4 separate regions of the Homo sapiens genome follow, and all the other regions are linked to region 1. The links are contacts of gene promoters, found by promoter capture Hi-C in blood cells and fetal thymus (Javierre and others, 2016). All regions are on one chromosome and are shown on one strand. The core of a region is centred on a gene start or on the middle of the fragment in contact, and the rest is flanking DNA. Distances in the headings are between cores, read along the strand shown. Region 1 holds the start of PRR19 (proline rich 19). Region 2 overlaps POU2F2 (POU class 2 homeobox 2). Region 3 overlaps LNROP (long non-coding regulator of POU2F2). Region 4 overlaps POU2F2-AS2 (POU2F2 antisense RNA 2).

Region 1 (2,581 bases), core at 82-2,581:
AGATTAATTTGGGGCAGCGTTGGGGGAGAGGCGCGACCCTAGGTGGCCTTGGCTATGGATGTAGGTTTCAGAGCTCAGACATACCCAGTTGGCCTGTGGGTTTAGAGAGAGTGTAGAGGCTGCAGATCTGCAAGATGATCTGCCGGAGGGACGCCAGACTGGACCTGAGCCCTGGAGGCGTCTCTAATTTCCTTTCTCTTTCTGCACCTTCTTCTACCCTCCAAGCAGGTCCTATGGTGTCTTGAATGCAAAGATATGTAGTTTATATGTTATGCCACGCGCGCGCACACACACACGGTGTTTTGAGTAGGGGTCCTGTGATGTCTTGAATGCAAAGATATGTACTTTAGATTTCAACACACACACACACACACACACACACACACACACACACACACCCACGGTGTTTTGAGTAGGGGAAGCCCACGAGTAGATAGGCTCACTAAAGCCCTGGCGCGGCCTTAGAGTGGCTCCTTAGAAGGGAGCCTCGAATTTTCACATTTTGTCATCTTCCTTTTCTGTCCCCCACATCAGTAGAAAATAGGAGCGTCCCCCCCAGCCAGGTGCATTCGAGCCACCCCTTCAAGGGAATATAAGAATGGACTCGTCCACTCGCTCCCCTCCCCCCACCACGTGAATGGGTCACCCCCCCCCCCGCAACAGTAGGTGGTCCCTTCCGCACATTTCACTCTGTACAGCAAATGGTTTCTTCCCATTTGCTAGACAGAGGGCTAGATTTTCCCCGCCCACTCTCGACTCTTCAGGTAGTTCGCCCCTCCCCGTGACCGGTGGGTGGTTTCTCCCTCCTCCCCGCCTCGGGAGCTGGATGGTCTCGCCTCTCCCTCCCCCCACCCCGTGCCGGGTGCGCGGCCTGGGAGTCAGCGGCCCGAGCGGGAAGCGCCGGGCGAGCCCACTGTGCGGCCGTCGTGGGGGAAGCGAAGGTTCCTGATTCCACCTACCTCCTAAGTGAAGGCTTCCGTCCCTGGAGAGGAGGCGGCGCCCTGTATCGGCCTTCGTCCTCCGCGGGTGTGCTAGCGTTGGGACGGTCCTTTGTTGCCGCGAGGGGTAGGAGTGGGCGTGGCGGAGCCAGCTCCGTTCGGAACACTCCCGGGCCGACCCGACTCGCTCATCCTGCAGGAGCTGCGGCGCCAAGATGAGTGGAGAGGAGAACCCAGCCAGCAAGCCCACGCCGGTGCAGGACGTACAGGGCGACGGGCGCTGGATGTCCCTGGTGAGCGTTCCCACCTGGGATATTGAGGAGTCCGGGGGCGCGGGGGGTGGCTCAGGAGAACGGCTGGTTCGTGCCACTCTCACTACCTGATTGGGAAACTGAGGGCAGTTGAGGAGGCGCTGCCTAAGGGAGCAGGGCGGGGCGGGCCCTGGAGCGTGCATGCCATTGACTCCCTCTCGCGCGCTCCCGCAGCACCATCGGTTCGTGGCTGACAGCAAAGATAAGGAACCCGAAGTCGTCTTCATCGGGGACTCCTTGGTCCAGCTCATGCACCAGTGCGAGGTGAGGGCAGTCCCTCTCCCCCTGCCCCATCCAGCCCTGTGTCCATGCTGACACATCTGGACCAGAACCCAGGCCAGGTGAGGTATTATGAGAGTACCCAGATTGGCCTCAGGCAGCCCGAGGCTCTGAGAATCTTGGTGTAAGGTGCAACATTCTATTGAGAAAGAAATGTATGCCTTGGTTTTATCAGATTGGATTTGTGTATAATGTACTAAGACCTAAAATGAGGCTTTCCTGCCATAGGCTTGCCTAAAGTGAGGCTCTTTCTTGTTTGCTTTAAGTAGTGCGCAGCCCTGTTGGGTTTACACAAAGCTATAGTCACTTTACAGGAAGCGAAGGGCAACTCTAATGGCACTCCACAAAGAGGACTCAATCATAATAATATCTTTCCACAAAGCATGTCCAACTGTAATGGGTTTCATCAAAATAAGTTTCAACTGTAATGCCATTGATTCAATGCATGGCTCAAGCAGACTGGATTTTCATGAAGTGAGTCTTGCTTCTATGGGGCTTGGTTTGTTTTGTTGGTTGGTTGGTTGGTTGGTTGGTTTTTGAGACAGGGTCTTGCTCTGTCACCCAGGCTGGCGTGCAGTGGTATGATCTCTGTTCACTGCAACCTCTGCCTCCTGGGCTCAAGTGATCCTCCCACCTTAGTCTCCGAGTAGCTGGGACTACAGGTGCACATCACCATGCACCTGGCTAATTTTTGTAATTTTTGTAGAGATGGGGTTTTGCCCTGTTGCGCAGGTTGGTCTTGAACTCCTGGGCTCAAGCAGTCCGCCCACCTCAGCATGAGCAACAGAGCCTGGGGCTTGGTTTAAAGTGAGAGACTCTAGGCAGGGTGTGGTGGCTTACGCCTGTAATCCCAGCACTTTGGGAGGCCAAGGCAGGCGGATGACCTGAGGCCAGGAGTTCGAGACCACCCTGGCCAACATGGCGAAATCCTGTCTCTACTAAAAATACAAAAATTAGCTGGGCATGGTGGCACATGCCTATAGTCCCAGCTACTTGGCAGGCTGAGGCAGGAGAATCGCCAGAACCTGGGAAGCAGAGATTGCAATGAGCCGA
Region 2 (2,581 bases), core at 54-2,553, 200 kb after region 1:
TCCCATGTAGCTGCAACTACAGGCGCCCGCCACCACACCTGGCTAATTTTTTTTCTGTATTTTTTTGGTAGAGATGGGGTTCCACCATGTTGGCCAGGCTGGTCTCAAACTCCTGAACTCAAGTGATTCGCCCGCCTTGGCCTTCCAAAATGCTGGGATTACAGGCATGAGCCACCGCACCCAGCCAAATTTTAATTAATTTATTTTATTTTATTTTGTTTTTTGGAGACGGGTGTCTCCCTTTGTTGCCTAGGCTGCAGTGCCATGGTGTGATCATAGCTTACTGCCACCTCAAACTCCTGGGTTCAAGGGATCCTCCCACCTCAGCATCCTGAGTAGCTGGGACCACAGGCATGCACCACCATGCCTGGCTAATTTTCCTTCTCCTCCTTCTCCTTCTCCTTCTCCTCCTGCTCCTCCTCCTCCTCCTTCTCCTCCTCCTCCTCTTCCTCCTCCTCCTCCTCTTCCTCCTTCTCCTCTTCCTCCTTCTTGTTTTTTTCTTTTTGTAGAGACAGGGTCTTGCCATCTTGCCCAGGCTGGTCTCAAACTCCTGGGCTCAAAAGATTCTCACATCTAGCCTCCCAAAGTGCTGGGATTATAGGCATGAGCCACTGTGCCCAGCCAGTTTTTATTTTAGATTCAGGGATACATGTGTAGGTATGTTACAAGGGTTATATTGCATGGATGCTGAGGTTTGGGGTATAATTGTTCCTGTCACCCAGTAGTGAACACAGTACCCAGTAGGAAGTTTTTCAGCCTTTGCCCTTCTCCCTCCCTTTGGAGTCCCTAGTGATGATGACTATAATTATGTGATTGATTTCATTTGAAATTCTATATATCTGGCTGGACATGGTGGCTCACACCTGTGACCCCAGCACTTTGAGAGGACGAGGTGGGTGGATCATCTGAGGTCGGGAGTTTGAGACCAGCCTAGCCAACATGGTGAAACCCCTTCTCTACTAAAAATACAAAAATTAGCTGGGCATGGGCATGGTGGGTGCACCTGTAGCCTCAGCTACTTGGAAGTCTGAGGCAGGATAATTGCTTGAACCCGGGAGGCAGAGGTTGCAGTGAGCCAAGCAAGACTGAGCCACTGTACTCCAGCCAGGGTGACAGAGGGAGACTCCATCTCATCTCAAAAAAGAAAGAAAGAGAGAGAGAGAAGGGAAAGAAAGAAAAGAAAGAAAAAGAAAGAAAGAAGAAAGAAAGAAAGAAAGAAAGAAAGAAAGAAAGAAAGAAAGAAAGAAAGAAAAAAGAAAGATCCTATATATCATATGTTATGTGTTTTTAATTCTGAGAAGAGGGCAATAGGTTTTTTTTTTTTTCAGATGCTGAAGAATTCAGGGCACAAAAACATTTAGACCTCTATTGTTTTAGACCCCTCTCTGCCTGCCTGGGGGCGAATGGATGGTCTGGGGTAGAAGGATGGTGGTTTGGACCAGGACAGTCACTGTGGACAGGAAGAGATGTAGAGGGAACTGGGAAGACTTGCATTGCAGATGGATTGGATGGATGGGGAGAGGAAGGGAAGGTGGGATTAAGGCTGACCCCTAAGTCTCTGGTCTGAGAAACTAGACAGGGATGTGATTAAATGTTTCCCATCTGAACTTCTCACCATGAGACCTTCTGCAAACTGGGATGCACTTTCCCCATTCTTTCCTCTCGCTGGTGATTCAGAACGAAACCCACAGACACCTCTCTAGGCTTCTGGAGGAAAGGGGAATTTTCATTGAGAGTCATGCTAGGGAGGAACAGGAGTTAACAAATACTTTAATCAACAAGCTAAGGGTTATAGGAAATCAGAAAAATGCTGGTAATAAGACTTGATTTCTAGTCTTATTCATTAGATTCAATTCAGTGGGCATTTAATGGGGGCTTACCAGGTTCCGATATGAGTTAGGGATATACGAAGAATAAGATATGCCTCTGGTCTGCTAGAGTCAGTCTGGCAGAGGAAAAGTACACATAAGCAAATGCATTGACTTGGGAGACGTGTAGCACAGGGCAGGTGGGTCTCGTTTTGTGGGGCCAAAAGATTATGCAACTTGGAGTCCCTTTGAAAGAAAAAGACAATGTTTGAAACAAAAATTAGGTATGGGGCCTTGAAAGGGTTCACTGTAAATGGGGGGCCCTGAAGCATAAGTGTTGCCCGCTTCACAGTTGATCCACATCTGGAGGGAGGTGACCATGGAGGTGTTACTGGGCTGGGGGTAGCTGGGAAAGGGAAGGCAGGGTGGACATTGTTTCACAGGATAGAGTGCTAGGACTTCAGAACCCTTAAGCTGGATTCTGAGATGATTAGCAGCAAGAGTTAGAGAGGTCAGGAGCACAGGAGTACCCAGTCCACTGCCATACACGGAATAAGCAGAGGCACCCCCAGGGGGTCAGGGAATAGTGTTCAGCTGTCGAAAAGCAGGGATGTTGATCAGCAGTGACTGTTTGGGTGGGTGGGGGTGAGACACTGGGATATTTATTTACTCAGACCAGGTACATGTTTCAAATCCCAGAGGTATGAATGGATTTACAGCGTGGCCTTCTGGTATGGTTTTCCAGACATCAACTATGCATACCCAAGCAAATA
Region 3 (2,581 bases), core at 49-2,548, 160 kb after region 1:
TGTATGTTGGCCAGGCTGGTCTTGAACTCCTGACCTCAGGTGATCCGCCCTCGTCGACCTTGCAAAGTGCTGGGATTACAGGTGTGAGCCACCACACCCGGCCAGTTAGTCTTCTTTTATCTTCTTTGAGCCACATCACAGTGCTTCTTTTCTTACATGAGGCGAACTGGGAATTCTGGTGGATGTGGAAAATTGGCTGTGGTGGGGAGATATGATGAGGAATGTTTGTATCCATGTGAATTTGTTAAGCATCTGCTGACTTCTGGTCCACAGACCTTGCTTCTTGGAAGATGCTGCTTCCTGACTTTCCCCCTGGAACTGACCCAAGTGTCTTCCCCCTGCTTCCCTTCTCACTGTGTCTTTCAGTGATGGCCTCGCATCCACCCAGCCACCCCAGCCCAGCACCCACTTCTCATATCCTGTTCCTGTAGACTCCAGCTTGAATATGTATCCTCATCCTAATCCTCATGGCTCCTTTCTCCCCTGCCGCCTTGGACCACTGTCCCAGCCTCCCCATTGGTCATCCTGTCTCCAGATTCCATGCTACCAGCCGGTCCCCACATTTGTCCCCAGTAGAACTTCCTTACACAGAATGCTTCTGCGCAGAAGCCTTCCACCTGCAACTTCAAATCCAACCTCAAAGGAACTTGAGGACAAACTTGGGAAAGCCAAGTTTGTCTCCACCTTGGGGTCTTCAACCTTGGCAACCCCCTTGAATGCTGTTTCCCACCTCCTGCCCTTCCTTTCATCCTTCAGGACCTCAGGTCCTACCCTGATCTTTCTTACCTGAGCTTAAGCTCTTCCACCTGCCCCAATCTTCTGTGCCAGGAAAGATACTTTAACATACCTGGACCTCATTCTTGACTTCTCCGTGACTCCCATGCCCCACATTCAGCCAATCACCAATTATTGCTTCCTGTCATCATCACCTGATGGTGATGTGGAATTCATCAGCTTCCTCACGCTGACCCCCACACTCCATCCTCTGGTTCTTCACTGCGGCCTCCAAAGCAGCCAGGATTGTCACAAAAGTGTTCATAGAACCATGCCACTCCCCTGCTTGAAACCTTCTCAGGTGTCCCACTGTTCTTGAAGTCCCAAATTCTTACCTTGGCCTGCAAGGCCCTGTGCGATCTGGCCCTGGCCGCCTCTCCACCTCACACCTCGTCTCCTATCTTCTCTTCTTTGTTCACTCTGCTCCAGCTCTATAGGCCTCCTTTCTGATCCTGGAATTGCCACACTGTTTGTTTCCATGGGGCCATCGCCTCCTCTGTTCCCATTGCCTGGAGTGTCTTCCTTCACATTCTTTGCCTCGAGAATACTGTGTCTAATTGCTATGTAAATGTCACTTCCTTGGGACAGTTTTCTGCAACATGCCATCCTTTGTTTACATCAGGTATCCTCCTTCTACTTTTTTTAAGAGTCAGGGTCTCTCTCTGTCACCCAGGCTGGAGTGCAGTGGCATGATCGTAGCTCACTGCAGCCTCGACCTCAAGCAATCTTCCCGCCTCAGCCTCTCGAGTAGCTGGGACTACAGACGCACACCACCACACCCAGCTAAGTTAAAACAATTTTTTTTGTAGAGATGGGGTCTCGATATGTTGTCCAGACAGGTCTCAAACTCCTGGTGTCAAGCAACTCTCCCACCTCAGCCTCTCAAAGCGCCAGGATTACAGGTGTGAGCCACCATGCCCAGCCCCTCCTCTACCTATTCTTGAAATCACTTTTCCTAACTTAGAATTACATATTTATTTGATGGCTTTTTATTTTTTATTTTATTTATTTATTTATTTATTTTAGAGATTGAGTCTTGCTCTGTCACTCAGGCTGGAGAGCAGTGGTGCCATCATAGCTCATTGCAGCCTTGAACTCCTGGGCTCAAGTGATCCTCCTGCTTTACCCTCCAGAGGAGCCAGGACTACAGGGGTATGCCACCATGCCCTGCTAGTTGATAACTTTTAAAAATTATTTCTCCCCCAAAGACTATAAGCTCTATGGGTTGCTTTTAACCACTGTATTCTCTGAGCTTAGCAATGGCTTGGCACATAATAGCATTTATTGGATATTTATTAAGTGATAAATTACCAAGGTATTTTTATCCACTCCAGTCTTCCTCTCAGACTGTTAGCTCCTTGAGGTCAGATTTTAGATCTAGCTCACCTCTGGGTCCTCAGCTCCCAGCACAGGGCTTGGCACTGAGGGACATGAGGAAATGTTTGAATTGAAGGAAATGGGGAAGGGTTGGCCCACCTTCAGCCAGGAGCTGATGGGATCAGGAGTCCAGTGCATTGCCGAATATCAAGAAACTGACTCGAAGGCTGTGGGCGTTGGACTGTGAGCTGCAGAGGTATTCCAGCATTGCTGACTGGACAAGGAGTGGCTGGCTGTTGCTGTTGTCTCCTGAAGGATGGGGAGCATTTCACGCCTCCAAGAAGGAGCTCCATGGCTCAGTACAGAGAGATCAAGCTGTCAGGGGGACAGACCTGGGCTTAAATCCTGACTCCACCACTCATGCTGTGTGACTTGGGGCAGGAGACTTCACCTTTCTGAGGCTCAATTTGTTAGTAAAATGAGGATGATA
Region 4 (2,581 bases), core at 54-2,553, 150 kb after region 1:
GACTGGGAATATTTGTCAGCCATGGGGTGGGGATTATAGATGTGTAGGAGGTAAAAATGGCTTGCATCTCTGAGCCAGTTCGGGGACCAGTGGGTCCCTGGAATCCCTGACAGTCCCACAGCAAATGAAGGTCAAGTACCCACCATCCTGGTAAGCATGGAGCCCCAGGTGCCGAGAGCAGGCACTCGGCTCTGACTTCAAATAGAGAGACGTTCCTCAGGGCTCTTCGAAGCACTGGTGAGGGCTGGTAGGCAGAGAGAAGGCCTCAGAGAACGGCCCTGGGTGTTTTCAGCTGCGCTTGTTAGAAATCTTGATGCGCGCCCCACCCCCACCCCGTGGTTGTTGGGCTCACGCTGCCCTGCCAGGTCTCTGCCCCTGGCTTTCCTTCCTTTCCTCTTCCTCTCCCTTTGGCTCCAGCCCCAGCATCATCTTTCTTCCTTTTCTTAGTCTTCATTATGTGTCTTGGCCTCTCCATTCCTCCCTGGTCAGCTCCTTTTTTTCTGAGCTGGATCTCTGTGTTGAGTGTTGCCTGTGGGTTGAGTCTTAGCTTTTGTCTCCAGAGAGAGCCACACTGAGATCTGGAGGCTGGGGAGATCCAGAGATCCGGCCTGGGGTGGGTGTGAGGTGGGGTAGGAAAGAGAGGAGGATAAAAGGTGATTGAGGGAAAAACAAGAAAGGAAGTATTCACCCACTCCTAGCACTCCAGGACAGCTTCTGAGGTCCTTTACACAGTGATCCACCCTTGCTTTTCTCAAACTTTCAAGCAATCCTCCTGCCTCAGTCTCCTATGTAGCTGGGACTACAGGCTAGGACCACTGTGCCCAACCTTGCTTTTCTTGGGGACGAGGTGGATAGGAGGGCCAGAGGGATTGTCTAAGAAAGGGGAATCCAGAATACACCAGATGGGAGTGGAGGGAGAGGGAGACCCAGGGAGCATGCACCTCATGACAGAAACACAGAGAGGGGAACAGAGCAACGGAGAGGAGCAAAGAGGAAGAGGAAACAGCAGAAAAGTCAGAGGCAGGAAAGCAGAGTGAGGGACTCAGAGACAGAAAGGAACAGAGAGAAAGAGAGGGCGCGTGCATGCGAGCTGAGCGCATGAGAGTGCATCAGAGAAAGATGAAGGCAGCCGGGCTGAAGGCAGGGGACAATGAGAAAGAAAAAACAGTGCGGGGCAGCTGCAGCTGAGGCAGGTGGGCAGGACTGTGGGGCAGGAAGGAAGGACCTCACACCTGGCCCCCCACCCCCCAGGCTGGCCATGCCTGGCAGAGTACGAGGAAATTGGCCAAGGCCCTGGTGTGTGTGGACTGTGTGTGGAGGGTGAGGTGGCGGTGTGTGGTAAGGAGGGATGTACTGCTCTCCCTACCCATGTGATCAGGTCCCAGTCGGCTCTGGCTGGTCCCTGAAGCTACCTGAGATCATCCCTGTCCATTCACCCTGTCCCCTCCCCACCGTGGCTCACAGGGGCCCAGAGGAACGTGGAAAAAGGCTTGAGCATCCCTGACTTCTGGCCTGGGGAATGGGGAGAAAGGTGTGTGTGTGTGTGTGTGTGAGAGACATCACTTTGGACGTGATCCCCTTTCAGTTTCTCTCTAGCTTTGCCATCTCAGAGTCTCTAGTGGGTTACCAACTCCCCTCCACCACTATCTGCCGTCTGCCTTTTATCTCTCTGGTCTCCTTTCTCTCTCACTCTCACTCAGCCTTTCTGTTCCTCTCTGTGCATTGCCCCCTTTCTAGTTCTCCCTGCCTCTGGCCCCCGTTCTCTCTTTATCTGCGTCTTCTCTCTGTGTGGCTCCATCACTGGGTTTTCTGCTCTGTTGTGTGCTCTTTCTCTGTTTCTCTCTCCGTCTCTCCAGTCACTGTCTCTGCGTCTCTCTCTGTCGTGCTCTCTGCATTTGCCCTTCCTCTGCTCTTTTTCTCTGCCTTTGCCTCCTGGTTTTGGTGTCTGTGTCCCTTCCAGTCTCTTTCATCTTCTGTCTCTGCTTCTCTGTGCATCTCTCTGCGTGTGCCTCTGTCTCTCACTCTGCCGTTCTCTTTCTCTTGTCGTCTCTCGGGGTCTCTGGCTGTCCATCCCTGCCTCTGTTTGTGTCTCTCTCGCTCCCCCTCCCTGTCCCCCCCTTTTTTTCCTGTTTCTAACACCCACACTCACATCCTACCTCTGGAGTAATTGCTTTTGTCTGGGTTGGACTGGACTTGTGGTGGGGGGAGGGCGGGGGGAGCGGGTGGCGCTGGGGGGGTTGGGAGGGACGGAGGTCGCTTGGTGGAGTTGAGGTGGCATCCACCAAAGCAGGGGTGTTGAGGAGCAGAGGTACAGCCTGCCCAAGGTGCCGGGGGAGGGACGGGGGCCTGGGCCCATCCTGGCAGGGGTCTGGGGTCTCTGGCAGGGAAGGGAAAGAAGGCAGGCAGGCCCTGACATTGGGATTTGGAGATGATGTAGTGATAAAACCGGCTAGCCAGTGTCTCCGTGGCAGCCCCTGCTGCCTCGCCACCCTCCCCCACTCAGAGACTCAGGGTTGTAGCCTCTACACACATACACCGTGCCGTCTACACCAAGTCACCATGACACACACAGGGACACACC

What was found. The method cuts DNA at HindIII sites, captures the fragments that hold promoters and counts their contacts. A CHiCAGO score of 5 or more calls a contact.
Region 2: a contact is called between a fragment that was not itself captured here and the fragment with the promoter of PRR19 in region 1, in 17 of 17 cell types (naive B cells, total B cells, naive CD8 T cells and 14 more). The highest score is 35.1, in naive B cells.
Region 3: a contact is called between a fragment that was not itself captured here and the fragment with the promoter of PRR19 in region 1, in 16 of 17 cell types (total CD8 T cells, naive CD4 T cells, naive B cells and 13 more). The highest score is 22.1, in total CD8 T cells.
Region 4: a fragment that was not itself captured here is called in contact with the fragment with the promoter of PRR19 in region 1 in 11 of 17 cell types (naive B cells, total B cells, neutrophils and 8 more); the score reaches 14.2 in naive B cells.

What each region holds. Positions count from the first base shown.
Region 1 is chr19:42,300,882-42,303,462 of GRCh38, reverse strand. It overlaps PRR19 (proline rich 19), which reads right to left and starts at 1,331. Exons shown (of 3, transcript NM_199285.3): 1 at 960-1,331. PAFAH1B3 (platelet activating factor acetylhydrolase 1b catalytic subunit 3) reads left to right here and starts at 839. Exons shown (of 5, transcript NM_002573.4): 1 at 839-1,231; 2 at 1,424-1,513. The coding sequence starts at 1,154. RefSeq lists a silencer at 725-944 and enhancers at 498-1,152, 1,105-1,234, 1,315-1,364. The HindIII fragment of the contact is 26,667 bases long and covers 1-2,581 here.
Region 2 is chr19:42,104,671-42,107,251 of GRCh38, reverse strand. The region is part of intron 5 of POU2F2 (POU class 2 homeobox 2); the gene reads left to right. Among named protein-coding and RNA genes, the nearest start is that of POU2F2, 26 kb to the left of the region's middle. The HindIII fragment of the contact is 5,797 bases long and covers 1-2,581 here.
Region 3 is chr19:42,136,557-42,139,137 of GRCh38, reverse strand. LNROP (long non-coding regulator of POU2F2) reads right to left here. Exons shown (of 3, transcript NR_038332.1): 3 at 2,039-2,466. It also overlaps a transcript of POU2F2 not described here. Among named protein-coding and RNA genes, the nearest start is that of MIR4323, 4.3 kb to the right of the region's middle. The HindIII fragment of the contact is 4,330 bases long and covers 1-2,581 here.
Region 4 is chr19:42,153,734-42,156,314 of GRCh38, reverse strand. It overlaps POU2F2-AS2 (POU2F2 antisense RNA 2), which reads right to left. Exons shown (of 2, transcript NR_186341.1): 2 at 1-608. It also overlaps a transcript of POU2F2 not described here. Among named protein-coding and RNA genes, the nearest start is that of POU2F2-AS2, 2.5 kb to the right of the region's middle. RefSeq lists an enhancer at 793-1,321. The HindIII fragment of the contact is 3,776 bases long and covers 1-2,581 here.